2 separate regions of the Homo sapiens genome follow, and region 1 is linked to region 2. Evidence: promoter capture Hi-C in 16 types of primary human blood cells and fetal thymus (Javierre and others, 2016). All regions are on one chromosome and are shown on one strand. Each heading gives the region's core, a stretch centred on a gene start or on the middle of the fragment in contact. The rest is flanking DNA. Distances are from core to core; before and after follow the strand shown. Region 1 holds the start of RLIM (ring finger protein, LIM domain interacting). Region 2 holds the start of RPS4X (ribosomal protein S4 X-linked).

Region 1 (5,872 bases), core at 35-2,534, 2.3 Mb after region 2:
GTCTTGCAAATGGAAGATGACAATCTGATACAACTGCTTCCTCTTGCCCCAAAATGAAAAAAAAAATGACCTCAATAACAAGACTGCTAGGCCTCAGATTCCCAGACTAACCTGTGGAATAAGTATGGTGAAACTGTCTAGGGAAGGAACGTGGCTGTCTCCTCCATCTTGAAATTAATCAGCATAAGGGAAAAAGGGACCGAGTATTCAGGAAGCAGAAGCCCAACCGGTTAATACTAGTTACTAAGCTATGGCATGCGTGGCAGGTACCGTCTGCAGAAGCAGAGACCCCCCTAGGCTTTTTTTTTTTTTTTTAATGGGGGAGGGATTGAGTTGTTGGTGGATTAAACACAAATTAACTTGAAAATTTGGCCCAATTCCATCCCTTATCCAGGAGAACACAACAAACACCTAACGGCTTTTCCCTCTCTTTTGCGGGGGGATCCTTCCAGTGATACCTGGCAAAGGATATGCCAGGGTTATTCGAGCAAGGGAGTAAACCACATTTGCCTCAGATCCTCAGGGAAGATGTCATCGCGGCCCCAGGGGGCGCCTAATTGGTAATACCCTGCAGAAGGGCTCAAAATGAGGTTTTGGAAATCTAAAGGCCCAAGAGTTGCCAGCATCTCACTTGGGGCAGCCTGATTTTTTACTTCCCTTTTCCCAAACCCAAGCCCGCCATGGAAAACGCGGGGAGGTCAGGGAAGCCTCCAGAGAACAGAGAAGAAAAAGCCTGAGACGTTCTAAGATTCTGACGCCTGAGGCCAAAACTCAAAAACTGCCTCCCCCGATTTCCTAAGGCTCCGGAGGGCCTGGGCTGCAGCTCGCGCGGCCACCGAGAGGAAGTACTACCCACCTCCTTCCCCTTCAAAGAGCCTGTCGACTATACCACTCAACTAAAATGGCAGCGGCGACTACGCCACGGAGCCCCCCGCAGCAACGGGCCTGGGGTCCGGAGGCGGCGCTGAGCCTCTGCCACGACGCGTCACTCGGGCCATTTTGAGAGAACGCGGCAGCCGCGGCTCCGCTGTCTTCCTCTCGCTCTACATCATTTCTCACAGGATTCCCAAGTCTTCACTTACTAGGTTTTAGGGTCAGGATCCGACTCGGTTGGTTCGGCCGCCGCCGCCGAGGCTGCTCCGCACCTCCCTGGCCGCCGCTCTCAAGCCCGCCTCCAATGAGTAGCTGGTTGAGACCCGCCTCTAGCCCAGCGCCTGCTCGGAGACGTTGCTCAGGCAGCCATTATCTTCCCCATTGTTACCAAGCAGCGACAGGAAACGACTGCCCACAACAGGAAGTGATGATGCCGCGTCCCGGCACCGCAGCCCCACTCCCAGCCTATTAGCCAATCCCAGTCGATTCCTCGAAAAGGCTCCGCGGGAGGAGGAGGGGGACGGCAGACGACGCGGCAAGGCGGGCGGCGGTTTGGAAAAGGAAAGCTGTTATGACGCCCACCATGTGACAGGCCCCACCCTCCTCCGCCATTTTGAATTGTGGCGAGAAATTTGCGTTCTGAGAATTGTGGGAACCTTCGCTTTCCCATTTTGAAAACTGAAGGACGTCACGGTCTGACTGCTTGAAGACATTTTCAGAGAGAGAGAAATGTGATATTAGTCTACCCTGACATCACATCAGTTCACACAATCCGTGCAGACCAGTTCAAAAAGTAGCCTGCGTTTTATTCAACATGTATTTACACAGTGCCAACTGCATGTCAAGCACCATTGTAGCTGCTTAGGAAATTAAAATAGACCAAAATTAAGAAAGAAAACAGGCCACGTTCGGTGGCTCACGCCTGTAATCCCAGCACTTTGGGAAGCCGAAGCGGGCGGATCACCTGAGGTCAGGAGTTCGAGACCAGCCTGGCCAACATGGTGAAACCCAGTCTCTACTAAAAATACGAAAATTAGCCGGGCGTGGTGGCGGGCGCCTGTAATCTCTGCTAATCGGGAGGCTGAGGCAGGAGAATAGCTGAACCCAGGAGGCGAAGATTGCAGTGAGCCGGGATCTCGCCACTGCACTCTAGCCTGGGTGACAGAGCAAGGCTGTGTCTCAAAAAAAAAAAAAAAAAAAAAAAGAAAACAGATCAAAATCCCAGTTCTCTTGAGTCTTTATAGGGGCCAGGGACAATAATTTAGAAAAAATCAAACATAAATACATATCATGTTAGTGATAAATGCCAAGGAGAAAAATCAAGGAAGGGGGACAGAAGAGTTCCTTGTAGGGACAAACGGATTCGTGATGTTTAAAAGACTGATAACTTTGAGGCATTAACTCTAAAGTATTCGAAAAAGGGCGGTGATTGTAAAAGGGTGGGAAAATCTGATAACGTTGGGATTTGTAAAAGGGCAGTTAAAGAAGGCCTTTCTTAGGTAGTAATGCCTGAAAGAATTGAGGGAACTCGCCACACAGCATGCCACTCCCATTGTCACAGTTAAAGGAAAACCTTACCCAAGTTTTTAGATTCTTTTCCTTTTCCCAATTTTTCTGTTTTCCAATAGCATGCCAGCTATGCTGGCTTTGTTACGGTTTTTCCAACAAAGCTAACTTCTTCCTACTTCAACTACTTTACCTTTGCTGGAATATTTTACTTTCATATCTTTGCTTTCATCATCCAAGCCTCGCAATTATTAACTTCCTAGAGAAGCCTTCCCTGACCACCCTACCTAAAATAACTTCTTCCTGAAGGCGGAAAAAGGTCTGAGGAAAAAAAAAAAAAGAAAAAAGTAATAACGACTTCTCCCATCTCCTTACCTGCTTACTTTTCTTGTAAAACACTTAATCTGAAAGTAAGTTATTTATTTGTTTGTTTACTTCACCCTTTCTGAGCAGTAAACCTCTCTGTTTTGTTCACTGTTGTGTCCCCAGCGACCACATAGTAAGCCCTCAAAATACTTTGGGAGAATTACCCCCTCACCATGATGGATGTTATATCAGCCTGGAATATAAGTATTTCACTCCAAGCAGTTAAAACAATATCCCTCATACTTACCTGCCCAACTCCCTAGAAGACTCATTGATATTGTCATTTTTGGCAGAGGGATACATGATTTAGGCGCTGTGTCTCTACTCAGGTTTTTGTCTTATTTTACATAATCATGTACTAGAACGATTACCTAGAACGTGTAAAAGGAATTCTTCAGTAGCCTGCAATTGCCATTAAGCCTGATATTCTGATTATGGCAATAACATTAGCCACTCCTTAACGTATTCTTGAGGCTTATGTGGCTTAATCTAAAATATAAAATCATAAAAGAAGTGGAAGAAAATACAGGTTACTATTTCTGTCCTTTCTTCCTTCCTTCCTTCCTTCCTTCCTTCCTTCCTTCCTTCCTTCCTTCCTTCTTTCTTTCTTTTTTTTTTTTGATGGAGTCTTGCTTTGTTGCCCAGGCTGGAGTCCAGTGGCATGATCTCAGCTCACTGCAACCTCCGTCTCCTGGGTTCAAGCGATTCTCCTACCTCAGCCTCCCCAGTAGCTGGGATTGCAGGCATGCACCACCACGCCTGGCTAATTTTTGTATTTTTAGTAGAGATGAGGTTTCACCATGTTGGGCAGCCTGGTCTCCAACTCCTGACTTCATGATCCGCCTGCCTGGGCCTCCCAAAGTGTTGGGATTACAGGCGTGAGCCACTGTCCAGGCCTAGGTTAATATTTCTATAGCCTTGGGGATGCAGAAGCACTTTTGAAATACAACACAAAATCCATAATGGGAAAGACTAATAAGTACAACTTCATAAATAAAAGTAAACCTTCTAAATGTCAAAATACAAGGTTGGTAAAGTTAAAAGACAAATGATAAATTGAAAAAAATCATTTCATAATGACATATTAGAGCCAAGGGGTAATATCTTTACTTAATAAAAAGACGAAACACTAGCAAAAATGTTACATATGTGATAAACACATATGGCTAATATCAGCCTATAAAGAGTTGTTAAACATTGATTTTTAAAAAGATAAATACCGGCCGGGCGCAGGGGCTCACACCTGTAATCCCAGCACTTTGGGAGGCCAAGGCAGGCGGATCACAAGGTCAGGAGATCAAGACCAGCCTGGCCAATATGGTGAAACCCCGTCTCTACTAAAAAAAATACAAAAATTAGCTGGGCGTGGTGGCGTACTCACTCCTGTAGTCCCAGCTACTTGGGAGGCTGAGGAAAAGGAATTGATTGAACCCGGGAGGCAGAGGTTGGAGTGAGCCGAGATCATGCCACTGCACTCCAGCCTGGGTAACAGCAAGACTGCATCTCAAAAAAAAAAAAAAAAAAAAAAGAGATAAATACCTCCATTTCAAAATGTGCAAGGAACATGAATGGATAATTCATAAAAGGATAAAACACGTGGCTGATAAGCATATGACAATATATTCTTTTTTTCTTGTTAGTAAATAACCTTGTACTTGAAAATATATTCAGCCTCACTAGTAATTAATCAAAAATAAAAACAATGAGGTACAACTATTATGTATCCATAATAATTAAAAAACAATAGCTGGGTTCGGTGGCTCACGCCTGTAATCCCAGCACTTTGGGAGGCTGAGGCGGGTGGATTGCCTGAGGTCAGGAGTTTGAGACCAGCCTGGCCAACATGGTGAAACCCCGTATCTACTAAAACTTCAGAAAAAAAATTAGTTGGGCGTGGTGGTGGGCACCTATAATCCCAGCTACTCGGGAGGCTGAGGCAGGAGAATCGCTTGAACCGGGAGGCAGAGGTTGCAGTGAGCCGAGATTGCGACATTGCACTCCAGCCTGGGCAACAAGAGTGAAACTCTGTCTCAAAAAAACAAAACAGAAAAATTTTATGAACTAAAAAATTTTTTAAAAAGTTCCTTTTTTTGCCTGTTAGAATGTCAAGGATAAAAAATCGATAATATTAATTGTTGATGAAGATCCTATGAAATGGGCACATTTGTATTGCCAGTGGGACAAATTGATATCAGTTTTCTTTTTTTTTTTTTTTTTGAGACAGAGTCTCACTCTGTCACCAGGCTGGAGTGCAGTGGCGCAATGTCGGCTCACCGCAACCTCCACCTCCTGGGTGCAAGCAATTCTCCTGCCTCAGCCCCCCGAGTAGCTGGGATTACAGGCGTGCGCCACCACACCCAGCTAATTTTTGTAGTTTTATTAGAGACGGATTTTCGCCATGTTGGATAGGATGGTCTCGATCTCTTGACCTTGTGATCCGCCCACCTCAGCCTCCCAAAGTGCTGGGATTACAGGCATGAGCCACCACTCCCAGTTTTCTTAAGGCAATTTGGTAATGTGTTTCAAAAGACTCATATTCATAGTATTTGACAAACATGTCCAGGTACAGAAATTTATTTTAAGGAAAGAAGTGGACAAATTTGCAAATATGTATGTAATGAATGTGCAAAGATGCTAATTACAGTGTGGTTTATAACATCGAAATATTGACAAATCAGAAAAAATAACCATCCAACAACAATTAGTTATAGTATAACCACATAATAGACTACCATGTAGCATTAAAAATAAGTACCTAGAGCTGGAAATACGTTCAGGTTACTTTTTTTTTTTTTTTTTTTGAGACGGAGTCTCACTCTGTCACCCAGGCTGGAGTGCAGTGGCACAATCTCGGCTAACTGCAACCTCCACCTCCTGGTTTCAAGCGATTCTCCTGCCTCAGCCTCCTGAGTAGCTGGGACTACAGGCTCGTGCCACCACGCCCAGCTAATTTTTGTATTTTGAGTAGAGACGAGGTTTCACCATGTTGGCCTGGCTGGTCTCCAGCTTTTGACCTCGAGTGATCCACCCACCTCTGCCTCCCAAAGTGCTGGGATTCCAGGCATGAGCCACCGTGTCCGGCCTCAGGTTACGTTTTTAATGAAAAAAGCGATTTACAATACAGCTT
Region 2 (5,526 bases), core at 14-2,513:
TGAGGCACAAAAATATTAAATCGATTGGAAGTGGAGGACAGCTAGATAGTATAGCTCCTTCAAGGGCAGAGGAAGCCAAGAATAGATATTCCTCCCCTAGCCTGGTCCCCAAATGAGTCCTGGGAGACACTTAAAAACAGTGGCCACGGAAATATTTATATAAGATACTTACAAACACACCGGTCAATTTATCCAGCATCCAATGCTTTGGAGCTGCCACCCGCTTCAGATGCTTCTTGGGACCACGAGCCTGAAAGTTTTAGATTGCAATGCTGTTAATCAGGTTTCAGAACAGCTTATAAAACCTAGTGTGAAACTAAACTCTTAGTTTAGTTTCATCTTCAGCAAAATGTGGACAATATTAAAGTATAGTGTTCCGATAAAACAGAAACAAACACAGTTATTTAACAAACACCGTGAGATCCATAAGCTGCAACAAGCCTTCTTATTGTAACAGAGAATATTCTTGGTTACTATGTTTCAGAACGTTTACTGATTACTATCTTTCAGAACCTTGCTAAAGTGTTTCCATGTTACTGTTTGAAACTGTATCTGCTTAGAGGTTAGGGTCTTTCAAGAACACCATACTAGTGAAACGCACAGCAACAGAAATGAGCCAGGAGTCTACCTGTGTTTCTAAAGTTTTCACAATTTATTACCGTCTGTTTTTGACACGTATGGAACAAGATTCTGACATCCGCACAAACACATGTGCTGCTCCTTCGTACACTAAAGCCAAAAGCTGACACCAATTTTACTTTAAAAAGAGTAAGGAAGCCTTTTTAATGCTGTGTCCAGATGCTTACCGGCCACGTATGGTAAAGTCAGGCCGTGCCAAAAAGGCAATGACAAAGAAAACCTTTCTCCGCCGGGCACCCCCAGCGCCCACCAACCTCGGGCTCGCAGTCTGAGCTCCTGGCCCAGCCGCGGCTCCGGCCCGGGAGGAAAAGCAGCTTCTCCCGGGATCAGGACGTATGGCCGGGTCAGAAACCGAGGCCTTCCCAACAGCAGCACCAGATCTGCGCCTCCCCAACCCTAGGCCAGCGTTCGCCCTTCGCCCTGGAGCCCGTCCCGGCCTACCACGGAGGCCGTGATCCCTTCGCCTCTGCCCGGCCATCCCCAGTAGGAATCCCGAAACCTCGGGCAGCCCCGGCCGGGGGAGGATGGAGGCGGATACGTCCTAAGAGCTCGCTAACTAAACGGCTTACCATGGCTGCGTTAGGCAAGGAAAGAGGACCTCCGTCTTCCGGTGCGCGTAGAAATTGGGGCTGGAGACTGCGCGCGCCGGATTTTCAGCTGCTCCGCCCAGCTCAGCCCTTTGCTGGCGCGCCGGGACTCTTTCTTGCCATCTGCTGGTGGGAGGTCAGAAGTCCCGAGTTGAGGAACCGCCGCGGAAAGAGGGTGTCTCCTAAGGGCGATTTCCTCCCTCCCCTTTTTCCGCCCTTCCTCCTCCCATATTTGCTGAGCGCCTCTTGTGTGCCTTATTCTGTGCTAGGTGCTGGGAATACAAAGATGAGCTACACAACATCCCTGGCCTCAAGGAGAGTTCAAAGTGAGCTTACTTCCAGTCTCACGTACAGATGATTCTACGCCTGTAATCCCAGCACTTTGGGAGGCCGAGGCGGGCGGATCATGAGGTCAGGAGATCGAGACCATCCTGGCTAACACAGTGAAACCCCGTCTATACTAAAAAAAAATACAAAAAAATTAGCCGGGCATAGTGGCGGGCGCCTGTAGTCCCAGCTACTCGGGAAGCTGAGGCAGGAGAATGGCGTGAACCCCGGAGGTGGAGCTTGCAGTGAGCCGAGATCGCGCCACTGCACTCCAGCCTGGGCGACAGAGCGAGACTCCGTCTCAAAAACAAAACAAAACAAAACAAAACAAAGAACTTGTATATAATCAATAGAATACATTTTAATAAATATTTAATGTTATTTCTTAAACGTATTTTGTCTGTCCCTTTTTTGTGTTCCCTTGAGCCAGCCAGGCAGCCCATACTGAGTTGGGAAGAGCCAACAACGTTTTTAACCCCCTCTTGCTTCTCTGCTTGAACTCTGACATCCTCCCCCTTGCTTCCTGTACAACGCATTTGGCACTTATAGAGACTCAGGGAGGAGAGAGGATATTAGAAATCGTCTGGTTATATCTAACTAAAATGTAGATCTGATCCTGCTTCGAAACTGCCCTTGGCCCTCTGTTTCCTGCCGTAAGGGAGCAGGTCTGAACTTTATCTGGCTCCATTGCTCTCTCTCCCCAATCCCAAACTTCAAAGCTCAAGCCCCACCAAGCTAGTTTGTTCCGAGGGAGTCAGCTCTTTTTGTTTGTTTGTTTGGGAGACAGGGTCTCACTCTGTCACCCAGGCTGTAGTGCATGGCTCACTGCAGCCTCGACAGACAGCCCGGGCTCAAGCGATCCTCTCACTTCAGCCCCCACGAGTAGCTGGGACAACAGGCGCACGCCACTGCACCCAACTAATTTTTTGTAGTTTTATTTTTTTGTAGAGACGGGGTTTCGCCATGTTACCTAGGCTGGTCTCAAACTCCTGGACTCAAGCGATCCGCCCGCCTCGACCTCCCAAAGTGCTGGGATTACAGGCCTGAGCCACTGCGCCTGGCTAGAGTCAGCTCTTTCAAGACTGCTTGTGGACTCGATTCCTTAGCTTGGAACTGCCACAAACAGCCAAACCCCCTTCCTGGGTACCACCTAATCCCACACCTCAGCCTTGGAAATGCACAGTTCAAGTCCCTCTGGTTCTGTGGGCTCGTGGTCCCCTCAGTCAGGGTAAATCCCTCATTCTTGCCCCAGAGGCTTGTGTTCAAACTTGGTGAGGGCACACAGCACATTAGGTAGCAAGGACAAATTTAGTTACCTGGCCTCCACCAAACTGAGCACCTCCAGGATGGAGCCTGCCCTAATTCATCTGGGCAGGCCCCTTGCCACTGAACAGAGAGCTCGGCACTGTGTCCAGCACTTGATAAATACTTGTTGAATGAATAAACGGAGTCAGCATCCCACTTATTGTGCCAAGTCCTACTGTACTATCCCTGAGAGCATCCAGCCTGTGCCTGAATTCTTCCCACCATGAGATCAAGCTCCTAACTCATGAGGTTCCATTTCACAAGTCTCTATCTGTACCATCCACTTTACCCCTCAGCAGTCTGCAGAGGAGCAAGAGAGGGAAACATTGTTGGCTCTTCTCAAGCAGACAGTATTAACCAAGCAGACAGTATTAACTAAGAGGGCAGGAACTCCTCCTTGTCTAAAACTGGGATACAATCCACAATAAAGCATGTTATAAGTGATTATTGGAAAGGATCGATTAATTGGAGGTGAGGAGTAGAGAGAAGGTGAAGGTGATGAGATAATGGAAGTTGGTTCTGAGGTTTTTAATCTGAGAGCACTGGGAAGATGGTGGTACAATTAACAGAAATGGTGGAGAAGTTGCTGTGGGAGTGGGGGGATAACCATGTGCTTTCCAGCTAGAGAGGATAGGAGAAATGGCTGGTTAGAGCTGCAGATCTCACTTAATCAAGATCACACAGCCCGTTTGGGGATGAGGGGACTTGTCTCTTGCCTCCCAGGTGAGTGGTTTGTTTTTATGCCATAGGTTATCAAAGGACTTGAGGAAATCAAAGCATCTTTTTCAGTATATTTCTCTCTCTCAATTTGTATTTATGCACAAATGACATTCTAACAACAATAAAGGAAATTTGGAAAGAGCTAAGTAAATCGCAAACAGTACCTCCCCAAACACCCTAAACACATCATCTGTATTCATTTGTTCCTCTTCCTGTTCTCTTTCTGATCGGCTTGTGTGCATGCATACTTTTACATAATTTTAGTCCTAGCATACAGACCATTTTGTATTCTGTTTTTATTATATTAGAAACACTTTCCAAGTTGCTGCATAATCCTCATAATTACTACTTTAACAGCTGTATCATATTCCATTAAGTGGATGTCCCACAATTAATACAAGTTCTCTGTTGTTGGACATTTAGTTTTCTGTACTTTTTCTCTATTATGCGTGTTGCTACAGTGAACAGCTTTTTCCTTCAGTTGAATATTTTCCTTAGAATAAATCTATTCCTTCAACCAACACTTATTGAGTGCTTACTCTGTGTCAAGCTCTGCATTATGAACTGAGGATGCAGAGATTATTAAGATCTAGTTCTTGCTCTCAAGGAACAAATAATAATATGAGAAGCAGGCTGCGGGGGTGGGGAGGGAAAGCTAGGAGAAGCTTATCGGAGAAAAAAATGGTGGTGAAGCGGGTTGTAATACAGAGGGCAGCTAAATCTTTAGGATCTTGGACTTTAGCCTGTGGGTAGACAATGGAGAGCTGTTGAAAGATTTTAAGGAGGACAGAATCAGTGTTGTGCTTTAAAAAGATAACTCAAACTCCTCCACGTAGAATGGTTTGAAGGAAATGTGAGTGGCTTGGAGGACATGGGTCAGGTCTCTGTCAACAATACAAGCAAGAAACTGAAGGCTGCTGAGACCTAGATTTGTGACTCTGGGGCTGAGGAGGAGGGGGCTCAAAGACTCAAAAGACATTGCAGATGGAGTATTGGCAGGATCTGACTGGGAAATGATGAATGTGCAGGGGTGAGGGACAACGAGGTAATTAGGATGACTCCCAGGTTTCTGGCTTGGTGACTCAGTGATGCATTCACCGGAACAAGGAGGAGGCAGAGGAGTGTGCTTGAGGAGAAGATGAGGAGATGAGTCTGAGACACAGGGCTGAGGGTGCGGGGGAACATCAGCCTGGAGATATCTTATAGACCCAGTCCTGAGCTCAGGCGCATGATCTGGGCTGGAGACTCAGATGTGGGAGAAGTGGTGCATCTGTGATTAATTCAGGGGAGTGGTTGGCAGTAACCCTTAGAAAGAGAGCACTGTGTCAAAGAGTCTGAATCCTTTTGTAGTAGCATATGTGTATTGCCAAAAAGCCTTTCTCGGAGGATTCTTGCAATTTTACTATACTCGTGCCAGCCTGGTAATCACCTATTTTTAACTTTTGCTAATGTAATTATTTTAATTTACACTAAAAAATCTCAACTAGGCCGGGTGCAGTGGCTCATGACTGTAATCCCAGCACTTTGGGAGGCCAAGGCAGGCGGATCACTTGAGGTCAAAAGTTCGAGACCAGCCTGGCCAACATGGTGAAACCCCATCTCTACTAAAAATACAAAAAATTAGCAAGGCGTGGTGGCATGCACCTGTAATCCCAGCTACTCGGGAGGCTGAGGCAGGAGAATCGCTTGAACCCTGGAGGCAGAGGTTGCAGTGAGCTGAGATCGTGCCACTGCACTCCAACCTGGGTGACAGAGTGAAACTCCATCTCAAAAAAAAAAAAAGCCACTAGTGAGGTTGAATATTTTGCCACATGCTTGTTTACTCATTCCATTTCCTCTTGTGTGAAGTATCTCTGGCCATTTATCTTTGGGGACATGTTTTTTGGGTAGATTTCCATGAATGCTTTATAAAATATAGACATTAATCCTTTGTCATACCAATTGGTTA

What was found. Contacts are between HindIII fragments. The CHiCAGO score rates a contact against its expected background, and 5 or more counts as called.
Region 1: the fragment with the promoter of RLIM here is called in contact with the fragment with the promoter of RPS4X in region 2 in 1 of 17 cell types (total CD4 T cells); the score reaches 7.1 in total CD4 T cells.

The regions. Positions count from the first base shown.
Region 1 is chrX:74,613,340-74,619,211 of GRCh38, forward strand. It overlaps RLIM (ring finger protein, LIM domain interacting), which reads right to left and starts at 1,285. Exons shown (of 4, transcript NM_016120.4): 1 at 1,083-1,285. RefSeq lists an enhancer at 890-1,209. The HindIII fragment of the contact is 9,843 bases long and covers 1-5,872 here.
Region 2 is chrX:72,275,985-72,281,510 of GRCh38, forward strand. It overlaps RPS4X (ribosomal protein S4 X-linked), which reads right to left and starts at 1,264. Exons shown (of 7, transcript NM_001007.5): 1 at 1,209-1,264; 2 at 173-250. The coding sequence starts at 1,211. RefSeq lists enhancers at 764-843, 1,014-1,083. The HindIII fragment of the contact is 11,342 bases long and covers 1-4,241 here.